2 separate regions of the Homo sapiens genome follow, and region 1 is linked to region 2. The links are contacts of gene promoters, found by promoter capture Hi-C in human tissues and cell types (Jung and others, 2019). All regions are on one chromosome and are shown on one strand. Each heading gives the region's core, a stretch centred on a gene start or on the middle of the fragment in contact. The rest is flanking DNA. Distances are from core to core; before and after follow the strand shown.

What was found. The method cuts DNA at HindIII sites, captures the fragments that hold promoters and counts their contacts. A contact is called where the count stands out against the background at its distance.
Region 1: a contact is called between a fragment that was not itself captured here and the fragment with the promoter of POLR3A in region 2, in 4 of the 25 tissues and cell types used here (H1 embryonic stem cells, adrenal gland, dorsolateral prefrontal cortex and 1 more).

What each region holds. Positions count from the first base shown.
Region 1 is chr10:77,842,797-77,847,634 of GRCh38, reverse strand. It overlaps DLG5 (discs large MAGUK scaffold protein 5), which reads left to right. Exons shown (of 32, transcript NM_004747.4): 6 at 3,929-4,188. Among named protein-coding and RNA genes, the nearest start is that of DLG5, 82 kb to the left of the region's middle. The HindIII fragment of the contact is 9,044 bases long and covers 1-4,838 here.
Region 2 is chr10:78,027,440-78,032,654 of GRCh38, reverse strand. It overlaps POLR3A (RNA polymerase III subunit A), which reads left to right and starts at 3,140. Exons shown (of 31, transcript NM_007055.4): 1 at 3,140-3,291. The coding sequence starts at 3,248. RefSeq lists an enhancer at 2,971-3,220. The HindIII fragment of the contact is 17,222 bases long and covers 1-5,215 here.

The DNA.
Region 1 (4,838 bases), core at 51-2,550, 180 kb after region 2:
CCTACCAAGAACATAATCCTCTGATGGCGAGAGGGAAAAATTCTAGACCAATAGATTTAGTTTTTTGGATTCTCCGGAGTTAACCATGACCTGGTTCCCCAGCTTTGTTCAGAGGCTGTTGGTTACATAGTACAGGCCTGGCACTGAGTCCTGTTTGTAGAGAAAGGGTGAGAAGTGTTTGGGGCCTGCGAGCCTCTTTGAGTATCTGGATGCTGCCCTGTGGGAACAGGTTATTCTGTTTGACTCCAAGGCTAGAGTGAGAACCAGAGGTTAGGAGTTGCAGGGAGGCGGAGTAGCTCCCGGTGAGCACGACCCTATCCCAAGGAGCTTTCACTTGTGGAGCAGGCCGAGGGTGGCCGTCATCGTGGTGGAAGCAAGCAGTACGGGGCCTGATCTCTCTCTCTCGGTCTTCTGACCCGAGGATCCTACCATGTTATGAAGGCTGGGGGGAGCAGCTGAAAGGACCTCGAGGTCTGTGACCCACCCTGTCGCACTGGGAATTCGTGGCCCACTCTCACGGCCCTTGCTGGCAGCCTGATTCACACGGCCCTGAATCATCCCTGGATTGTCACACAGGCCCGGATCCAGGCCCCTCAAGGTTAGCCATTCAGGGGACTGCAAAGAGGCCAAACCATGGTATAGACTCCTGATTCTGCCGAGCACTTGTGGAGGTGGGCTCTGCGGGCTACCACCCAGAACCGGGCTTTGTGTCATTTCAAGGCTGCCTTTGGAATGAGTTTGTTTCTGAGCTGGGAAGGCGGGAAGCCGCTGCAGGAGAGCGTTGGCTCGTCTCCCCGCGGCTGCCACCTTGTGGGGAACTCAGGCAATGACAGCCTCCTTTGTTCCCCAGCAAAGCAGACTCATTTGGAGCCAATGGGGTTCTCACTTGGCTTAGGGGATGTTTAGACAGTAAAACATTTGAGGTAATTTTTTTTTTTGAGACAGAATATTTCTCTGTCGCCAAGGCTGGGGTGCAGTGGCACAGTCTTGGCTCACTGCAACCTACGCCTCCTGGGTTCAAGTAATTCTCCTGCCTCAGCCTCCGGAGTAGCAGGGATTCCAGGTGCCTGCCACCACACCCGGCTAATTTTTGTATTTTTAGTAGAGACAGGGTTTCACCATGTTAGCCAGGCTGGTCTGGAACTTCCAATCTTGTGATCTGCTCACCTCGGCCTCCCAAAGTGCTGGGATTACAGGCGTGAGCCACTGCGCCCGGCCTGAAGTAATTTTTAATTGGCATTTTTGAGGTATTGCTCACCAATCAGGGCAATCCAGTTTAGATGCTGGACCTTTCCAGATGTGGGTAGAAGGCGTTGGTTGACCAGATGTCAGGACTGTCCTTCACTGACCCAGTATAGTCATGGTGAGCCCATTCTTCGTCTTTTTTTTGAGACGAAGTCTCGCGCTTGTCACCCAGGCTGGAGTGCCATGGCGTGATCTCGGCTCACTGCCACCTCCGCATCCTGGGTTCAAGCAATTCTCCTGCCTCAGCCTCCCGAGTAGCTGGGATTACAGGTGCCCGCCACCACGCCCAGCTAATTTTTGTATGTTTAGTAGAGACAAGGTTTCACCATGTTGGTCAGGCTGGTCTCAAACTCCTGACCTCAGGTGATCCGCCTACCTCGGCTTCCCAAAGTGCTGGGATTACAGGCATGTGCCACTGTGCCTGGCCAGGGCTTTTTTTTTTTTTTTTTTTTTTTAAAGAAAGATTTTAGATGTAGAGTGGGCACTGTCAGTGAGGTTCTGTTTCTCAGTGTGCATTCCTGTTTTGCAACAGTGATGCCATTTTACAAAACAGTGAAGATTTTGACTGCCTGAGATACCTGTGTACTGCTTTTTAAAATAAGTTCTGTATTTTTGGTGTACTAGTAAGATTTCCCTTGAAAGAAAATGTTCTGCTTTAAAAATAAATAAAGGAAAAAGAATGAGCCTGAAATGAACCAATCCTCCCTCCCTCTCTCCCTCCCTCCTTTCCCTTTCTTTCTCTCTCTTTCTCTTTCTCCTCCCCTTCCTTCCTTCCTTCCCTTCTTCCCTCCTTCCCTCCATTTCTCCCTCTTCCTTGACTTCCTCTTTAAGAGTCTACAGTCCTAGAATCTAATGCTTAGGTCTTAGAGGAAGACCTTACTTTCTTGTTGCTATGATTCTGACTTTTAAATTAAGCCCTCTTTTGCTTTTTGTGTTTTTCGTGTTTATTGAGAGCTGACCCTAATTCCAAAGGGAGTGTTCCATCGTCCCAGCTTCTGGTTCTCTAGGCTGCAAACGCTTGATAAACCAGGCTGCCACTGAATGAGCCAGGTGATTCCTCGGCTGTTGGAGCTGGAAGGGCCAGACAAGCTTTCCTGGTCTAGCCTGGGCATTTGAGGAATCCGGAAGCTGAAACCCAGAGAGGTGGAGTGACTCACCCCAGGGCTCAGATCCCATGAGGTGCTTAGCCAAAGCCAGCAGCCCCCCTGGCAACCTCTTAACTCATCTTCTTGGTTTGTTTTTTTCTCTATAACAGCACCCCAAATGAACTTTAGTGCCTGTCATTTAGAGTAGAATGCTGTCTAGCTTAAAACCCTCCACAGCTTCCTGTCTCACTCAGGAGACAGTCTTCACTGTGAGGCCTGCGGCCATGGCCACCCCCATGCCCACACCCACTTCTCCAGGTCCCCTTTGAACCCACCTCCCCCTGTGCATTGGGCTCTTGCTACTCCGCCTTGCCCCTCTCTGTCTCTAGAACACGCCTGCAGGCCCTGCCTCTGGGCCTTTGACCCTGCCCCCCTCTCTGCCCAGTGTGCTCTCGCTGCTCTTCTTCATTTGCCTCTGAAGTCGCCTTCTTCAAGAAGCCTCTTCAGCCTTAGCCTCCCTCACAGACCTCCACTCTGCTGCTCAGATGGCTCTCTCCAGCCCATTATTCTGTTTTATTTTTTATTTTCTTGATAGTTCTTACCTTGCTCTGAAGTTACTTTATTTGGCCTATCTGTGTGTCCACACCCTCCAAATTAGGATAAAAGGCCCACAGGGCACAGCGTCTTTCTGTCCTGTCTGGCATCACCAGCCCCTAGACCAGTGCTAGACATATTAGGTACTTGCATGGGATGCGGGGGGACCCTACACCATGGAGGGTCACCCTAGGGCTTTTGAGAGTCTTTAGGTCCGATTTACATAACCTGATTCTGGGCTATGTCACTTTCTGGGAGGACTCAAAAGATTCAGTATGTAATTATACTCAATGGCTGACATTTATTACAACAAAAGTACACAGAGCAAAGTCGGCAAAGGGGGAAAGGCGCGTGAGGCAAAGTCCAGGGGAAACTGGGCCTGAGTTTCCAAGAATCCTCTCCTGGTGGAGTTTCACCGGAGGCACTTAATTCCTCCAGCATGGAATCACAACAACACACAAGAAGTGCTGGCCTCCACGGAGGCCCATTAGAGACTCAGTGCTCAAGTGTCTTATTGGGGGCTGGTCATGTAGGAACTTCTGCCTGCCATGTACCCAGATTCTGGACTCCCAGTAGAAAGCAGGTGTTCAGCATAAGCCACTTTATTTGTACAGGCTCAGTACCAGAGCTGCTTATATCACCAGAAGAAAAGTTTTACATCAGCCTAGAGAACTGTTTACTGTTCGGGTTCCTAGACGCCATTCGGTAGGGTCAACCTTGCAAGCAGGCCTTTCTAAGGATATAGAAGTCTCAGGTCAGCTGTGTTAACTGTTCTGCACAATACTTAGTAAATAGTTGTGACTGAGTGAATCTAAATGAATCAGCCCAGTGTGACTGCAGGGCCTGGAGAATTGGACCTCAAGACTCTCAAAAGCTTTAGGGTAACCCCCTCCCCCCAACCGCCTTGTCATCAGTCTCACCCTCAGATAGACAAAAGTGAGAGTGGGAGGTCTCCTCCGCCACCTCCCACAGACCCTTGGTAAGTGAAACTGTCTGGTCTCCAGGTGTTGAAGCACAACGGGTCATCCGAGATTCTCAACAAACTGTATGACACGGCCATGGACAAGTTGGAGGTGGTCAAGAAGGACTATGACGCCCTTCGGAAGAGGTACAGTGAGAAAGTCGCCATCCACAATGCAGACCTGAGCCGCCTGGAGCAGCTGGGGGAGGAGAACCAGCGGTTGCTGAAGCAGACAGAGATGCTGACCCAGCAGAGGGACACGGCCATCCAGCTGCAGCACCAGTGCGCCCTCTCCCTGAGGAGGTAGGGCTAGGGCCATCGGGGGCCGGGGGCAAATGGGTCCTATAAGGTTCCCAGCCACCACCAGGGGATGAGAACAGCATGAGTTATTGTGCTTTTTCAATCAAAAAATGCTTCTGACCAGGAAACATTTTTTTTTGACACTGAATGTGTCTTGGGAATCGTGGCTCCCTCTTCCCATCTGAACATCCCTGTTTACCTTCGGGTTCACGGACACCATTCAGTGGTTAGCCTTGCAAGCGGGCCTTTCTGAGCGTGTAGAAATCTCGGGTCTGCTGTGTTAACTGCTCTGCACAATACTTAATAAATACTGGTGTGTTCTGAGCATCCTGTTTCTTTGGTCACTGTCATGTGCCTCTCCCCTCTGTGGCAGTCACCCACCTAGCAAATAGGAAAGTTAATTATCTGGGGCATGTGTCTTCTGTCATCTTTAGAGATGTGATATATGCCCTCAAACAGTGTTTTGTAGAGGATGTGCCTGTGAATCACCAGTTCTCTGGGGCATGTAGCAGTTTCACATGAAAAGTGCTCTTTGGGGATAAATAGGTTTGAGCATTGCCAGGTTGAACCCAGACAGATGTCTCTGCTGCAGGACTTCTCAGAGCCTTCAGCGTGGTGTTGTGCAGTAGACAGACTCTCCAAGAGGGGGCCAA
Region 2 (5,215 bases), core at 1,891-4,390:
AAAAAAGGAAAAAAAAATTGATTGCTCCAGAAATATTTTCTTTAACGTGAAACAGACATGTAAAGAATGTAAATATATATGTTCCGGAGAAATAATAAGAAGAATTTCCCAAATGTTAGTGCAGACGAGGTGTCCAAGGTGCAGGCTTTGCGGGCAGCTTTCCTATTTTCTTTTTTTTTTTTTCCTGAGACAGAGTCTAGCTCTTGTCACCCAGGTTGGAGAGCAATGGCTTCATCGCGGCTCACTGCAACCTCGACCTCCCGGATTCAAGCGATTCTCCTGGCTCAGCTTCCAGAGTAACTAAAATTACAGGCCTGCGCCACAATGCCCAGCTAATTTTTGTATTTTTAGGAGAGACGGGGTTTCACCATGTTGGCCAGGCTGGTCTCCAACTCCTGACCGCAAGTGATCCGCCCCCGCCTCGGCCTCTCAAAGTGCTGGGATTATAGGCGTGAGCCACCGTCCCCGGCCGACTATTTTTCTTTTTTTTCGTTTTTTGTTTTTTTTTTTTTTTTTGAGACCGCATCTCGCTCTGTCACCCAGGCTGGAGTGCAGTGGCGGGATCTCGGGTCACTGCAACATCCGCCTCCCAAGTTCAAGCGATTCTTCTGCCTCAGCCTCCCGAGGTGACCAACTATCCTTATTCTTAAGAAAATAGTCAGCCGGCTGGGCACGGTGGCTCATGCCTGTAATCCCAGCACTCTGGAAGGCCGAGGCAGGCAGATCACGAGGTCAGGAGTTCAAGACCAGCCTAGCCAATATGGTGAAACCCCGTCTCTACTAAAAATACAAAAATTAGCCAGGCATGGTGGTGCGCACCTGTAGTCCCAGCTACTCGGGAGGCTGAGGCAGAAGAATATTTATTGAGTGATTGTAATGTGCCTGTTACATTCTAATTACTTTTACCTTCATTTTGCTATTTAACCTTCCCATTGACTCTAAGAAATAGGATACATATTACTCACCCATGTTATAAATGGGGAAACTAACACACAATAAGATTAAATAACTTTCCCAAGTTCACACTTTATATACGTGTATATATACACGTATGTGTATATATACACATATATCTATATCTATATCTATATATATATATATATATATTTTTTTTTTTTTTTTTTTTGAGGCAGAGTCTTGCTCTGTTGCCCAGGCTGGAGTGCAGTGGCACAATCTTGGCTCACTGCAACCTCCGCCTCCCGGATTTAAGCGATTCTCCTGCCTTAGCCTCCTGAGTTGCTGGAATTACAGGAATGCGCCACCACACCAGGCTAATTTTTGTATTTTTTAGTAGAGACGGAGTTTCACCATATTGGTCAGGCTGGTCTCAAATTCCTGACCTCATGATCTGCCCACCTCGGCCTCCCAAAGTGCTGAGATTACAGGCGTGAGCCACCGCGCCCGGCCTGCACAACTTTATTTTTTATTTTTTTTTATTTTTGAGATGGAGTTTCACTCTTGTCGCCCAGGCTGCAGTGCAATGGCATGGTCTCGGCTCACTGCAACCTCCACCTCCCAGCTTCAAGCGATTCTCCTGCCTCAGCCTCCCGAGTACCTGGGATTACAGGCGCACACCACCAACCCCAGCTAATTTTTGTATTTTTAGTAGAGATGGGGTTTCACCATGTTGACCAGGCTGGTCCCGAACTCCTGACCTCAGGTGATCCGCCCACCTTGGCCTCCCAAAGTGCTAGGATTACAGGCGTGAGCCACCACGCCTGGCTGCCTACACAACTTTAAATGGTGAAAGCTAGACTCCCATGATGGCACTGTGATTTCATAACTTTTGCTCTTAACCTCTAGATAAGTCACACACGATCCAACCCTTGTTGGTATAATATTGTAAACATCAGAGCCGGGTGTGGTGGCTCACACCTGTAATCCTATCACTTTGGGAGACTGAGGCGGGCGGATCACGAGGTCAGGGATTCGAGACCAGCCTGGCCAACATAGTAAAACCCCGTCTCTACTAAAAATACAAAAATTAGCTGGGCGTGGTGGCGGGCGCTTGTAGTCCCAGCTACTCGGGAGGCTGAGCCAGGAGAATCGCTTGAACCCGGGAGGCGGAGGTTGCGGTGAGCCGAGATTTCGCCACTGCACTCCAGTCTAGGCGACAGAGCGAGACTCCGTCTCAAAAAAAAAAAAAAAAAAAAAACAAAAAAAACCCATAATGTTGACTATATATATATATATATATATATATATATAGTCAACATTATTTCATGATTAAGTGATGGAGTACCGAAATGAGTTAGAAAAACCTGATATGCCTCGTTTGTCTGTGACATTGTGTTTTGCTAGTGAGGATCCATGGCGTCTGAAAATGAGATAGCGTCCCTTCTTAAAAATTGAAAGTTGTTAAACACTTTTGTTAAGTTCTGTTTTGAGTTTCTCACAAATAATGAGGACTTAGTTCTAATTCTAAGCGCTAAGCCCTGTGGTGATGTGATTTCCTTGCTAGGCTCATGCACTAATATATCACACTAGGATCACCTCCCACAAGTTCTCACAGACTGTAGACAACTTATTTCAAGACATGAATGATCTTTACTTTCCATTCTCCCTTTTCTTCTGTAGATTACCATGGCTGTTTTCACTCTAACAGATTTTCAACTGTTTTTGTAATCAATAATGTAAGTTTAATTCTTCCCCCCTCCCTCCAAATAACTTCATGAACTGGAGGCACATGTGCGCCCATATTTTCCGCTCTGTTTTCCTTTGTTGGTCCTCCACAGATAGTGCCCTCTGTTGGATGGGCCGGTTCATTTTAGCTTCCACCTTCCCTTAAAACAATTAGAAGCTCTTAATTTAGATGGTACTGATGTTAATGATGATGATTTTCCATTTTATGCAAGTTTTGGCCCTCTGCTTGTCTAAAAGCCTTGAGGCAAAGAGTTATATGCAGTTTCTCTGCGGGTGTCTGATTACGTGGAGAAATTGACCAGAAATGGGATTTTTAAAATACAGCACACGCCTCGGTGCGGCTTCCAGTAAGCGCCACCAGGTGACGGTGCGGGGAAAGGGAAAAAAAAAAAAAAAAAAGGCATGCCGGAAGTCTCTCTTGACAGACAGACGCGCGGGCGAGTAGCGGAAGAGGAAGCGGACACGTGGGACACTCTACGGTGGCCGAGAGGATGCCGCAGATGTGTTAGCGGCGAGTCCAGAAGCAGCCCCAGGAGGTGCTGGGGGCATCGTTTCTCTAATCTGGCCTCCCGAGTGCCAAGGAGGCGTCCCGGCAGCGGTCATCATGGTGAAGGAGCAGTTCCGGGAGACGGATGTGGCCAAGAAAATGTAAGACGGAGTAAGAGTGGCCAAAGGGCTGAGAAATAGGGCAAGGGGTCCGAGGTCAGCGGTCCCGGGTCTTGCAGGGTCAGAGATGGGGTGCAATGGGAAGGGGAGGGCCAGTAGTCCATAGGTGTGACCAGCGCCCAGAACTACCAGCGTTGGTCAAAGAGCATTGGTCAGGCTGAGGGGATTTCAGCACCTCGAGAGGTCCCTGGACTTGGGCGGAGAAGTCGGAGTGGCCTGAGCCTTAATGATTTGTGCACCCTGGGCCAAAGCTCGCATTCTCCTGAAGTCATACAATGATCCCTGTTCTTCAGCGAACTATCCCCTGCTGCAGCGAGGGGAGCAATCTGGGGCGGGGACTGTCTCTAATTCTGTCAGCCGCAGAGCGTCTGACACGGAGGCAGTAGTTGCTTACCAAAAGGATGGGGTTGCCCACTAGAAAGCTGTACCACAGGCCGACGGATGGCAGTGTCAGAAATAAAGCTGCTATCCGGACTTTTGCCTTCAGAAATACGTTATTAGGCGGTGGCTCCTTCTTAGAGTTCTCGGTAAGAAAGTGAATCCAGCCGGGCGCGGTGGCTTACTCCTGTAATCCCAGCACTTTAGGAGGCCGAAGCGGGTGAATCTCCTGAGCTCAGGAGTTTGAGACTAGCCTGGGCAACGTGGCGAAACCCCGTCTCTATCAAAAATACAAAAATTAGCAGGCGTGGTGGCGCGCCCTTGTGGTCCCAGCTACTCGGGAGGCTGAGGCCGAAAAATCACTTGAGCCTGGGAGGCAGAGGTTGCAGTGGGCAACCTCCTGCATTCCACCCTGAGTGACAGAGTGAGACGGTGTCTCAAAAAAAAAAGTGAATTCATCATTCTTACAGCAGACACTGAGGAGGATACTGCGCGTTATTCCCAGTGTTGGACGTTAAAGATACGGTCTGAATAAAACTTTTACTGCCTAATCTAGTTGGAGAAGGTACACAAGTCAACACTGGGTACGACAAGTGCAATGACAAGGGTAGGTCCAGGGGGTTTTGAGAGCACATAATGGGTCCAGGCAAAAGAAAGCAGACCAAACTGCTTTTTTCAAGGAGCAGACCTGAGGGAGAGAACACAGGTGATCAGAAGGAAGCAGAAGACTTGAAGCTGTGTTAAGAAGTCATCTTGTAGGCAGTGAGGAACCTTTGAAGGATTTTCAACAGGAGAGTATCTTGATAAGAGTTCTCCTTCTGGAAAATCTCTTGATTCATGGTGGAAAGAATTAGAGGTCGAGAGACCTTGAGACGGATATACAGAATGCCTTGCTTGGGCAGCTGTGTGGATGGTTGCCATTCACTAGAACAGGTGTCTTACCTAGGTGAATGCAGCATTCTCCCATGTGGTAGCTCTACATCGACACTGGCCCTTCACACCCACCTGTACACCTGCGCCCAGTCAGATATAATACATTCTCACAAAACAGAGAAAGTGCTTCTGTCAAAGTGCAAATTAAGGGTATTGTCAATTAAAATCCTCTAGCAGAGGCCAGGAGTGGTGGCTCACGTCTGTAATCCCAGCACTTTGGGAGGCCATGGCAGGCAGATCATGAGGTCAGAAGTTCAAGACCAGACTGGCCAATATGGTAAAACCTCATCTCTACTAAAAATACAAAAATTAGCTGGGTGCGGTGGCGCATGCCTGTATGCCTGTAACCCCAGCTACTTGGGAGTCTGAGGCAGGAGAATCGCTTGAACCCAGGAGGCAGAGGTTGCAGTGAGCTGAGATCGCACCACTGCACTCCAGCCTGGGTGACAGAGCAAGACTCTGTCTCAGGGAAAAAAAAAAATCCTCTAGCAGCTTTCCATTGTGTGGGCCATCACGCCTAGCAAATTTTTTGTATTTTTAGTAGAGACAGGGTTTCACCATGTTAGCCAGGATGGTCTCAATCTCCTTGCCTCGT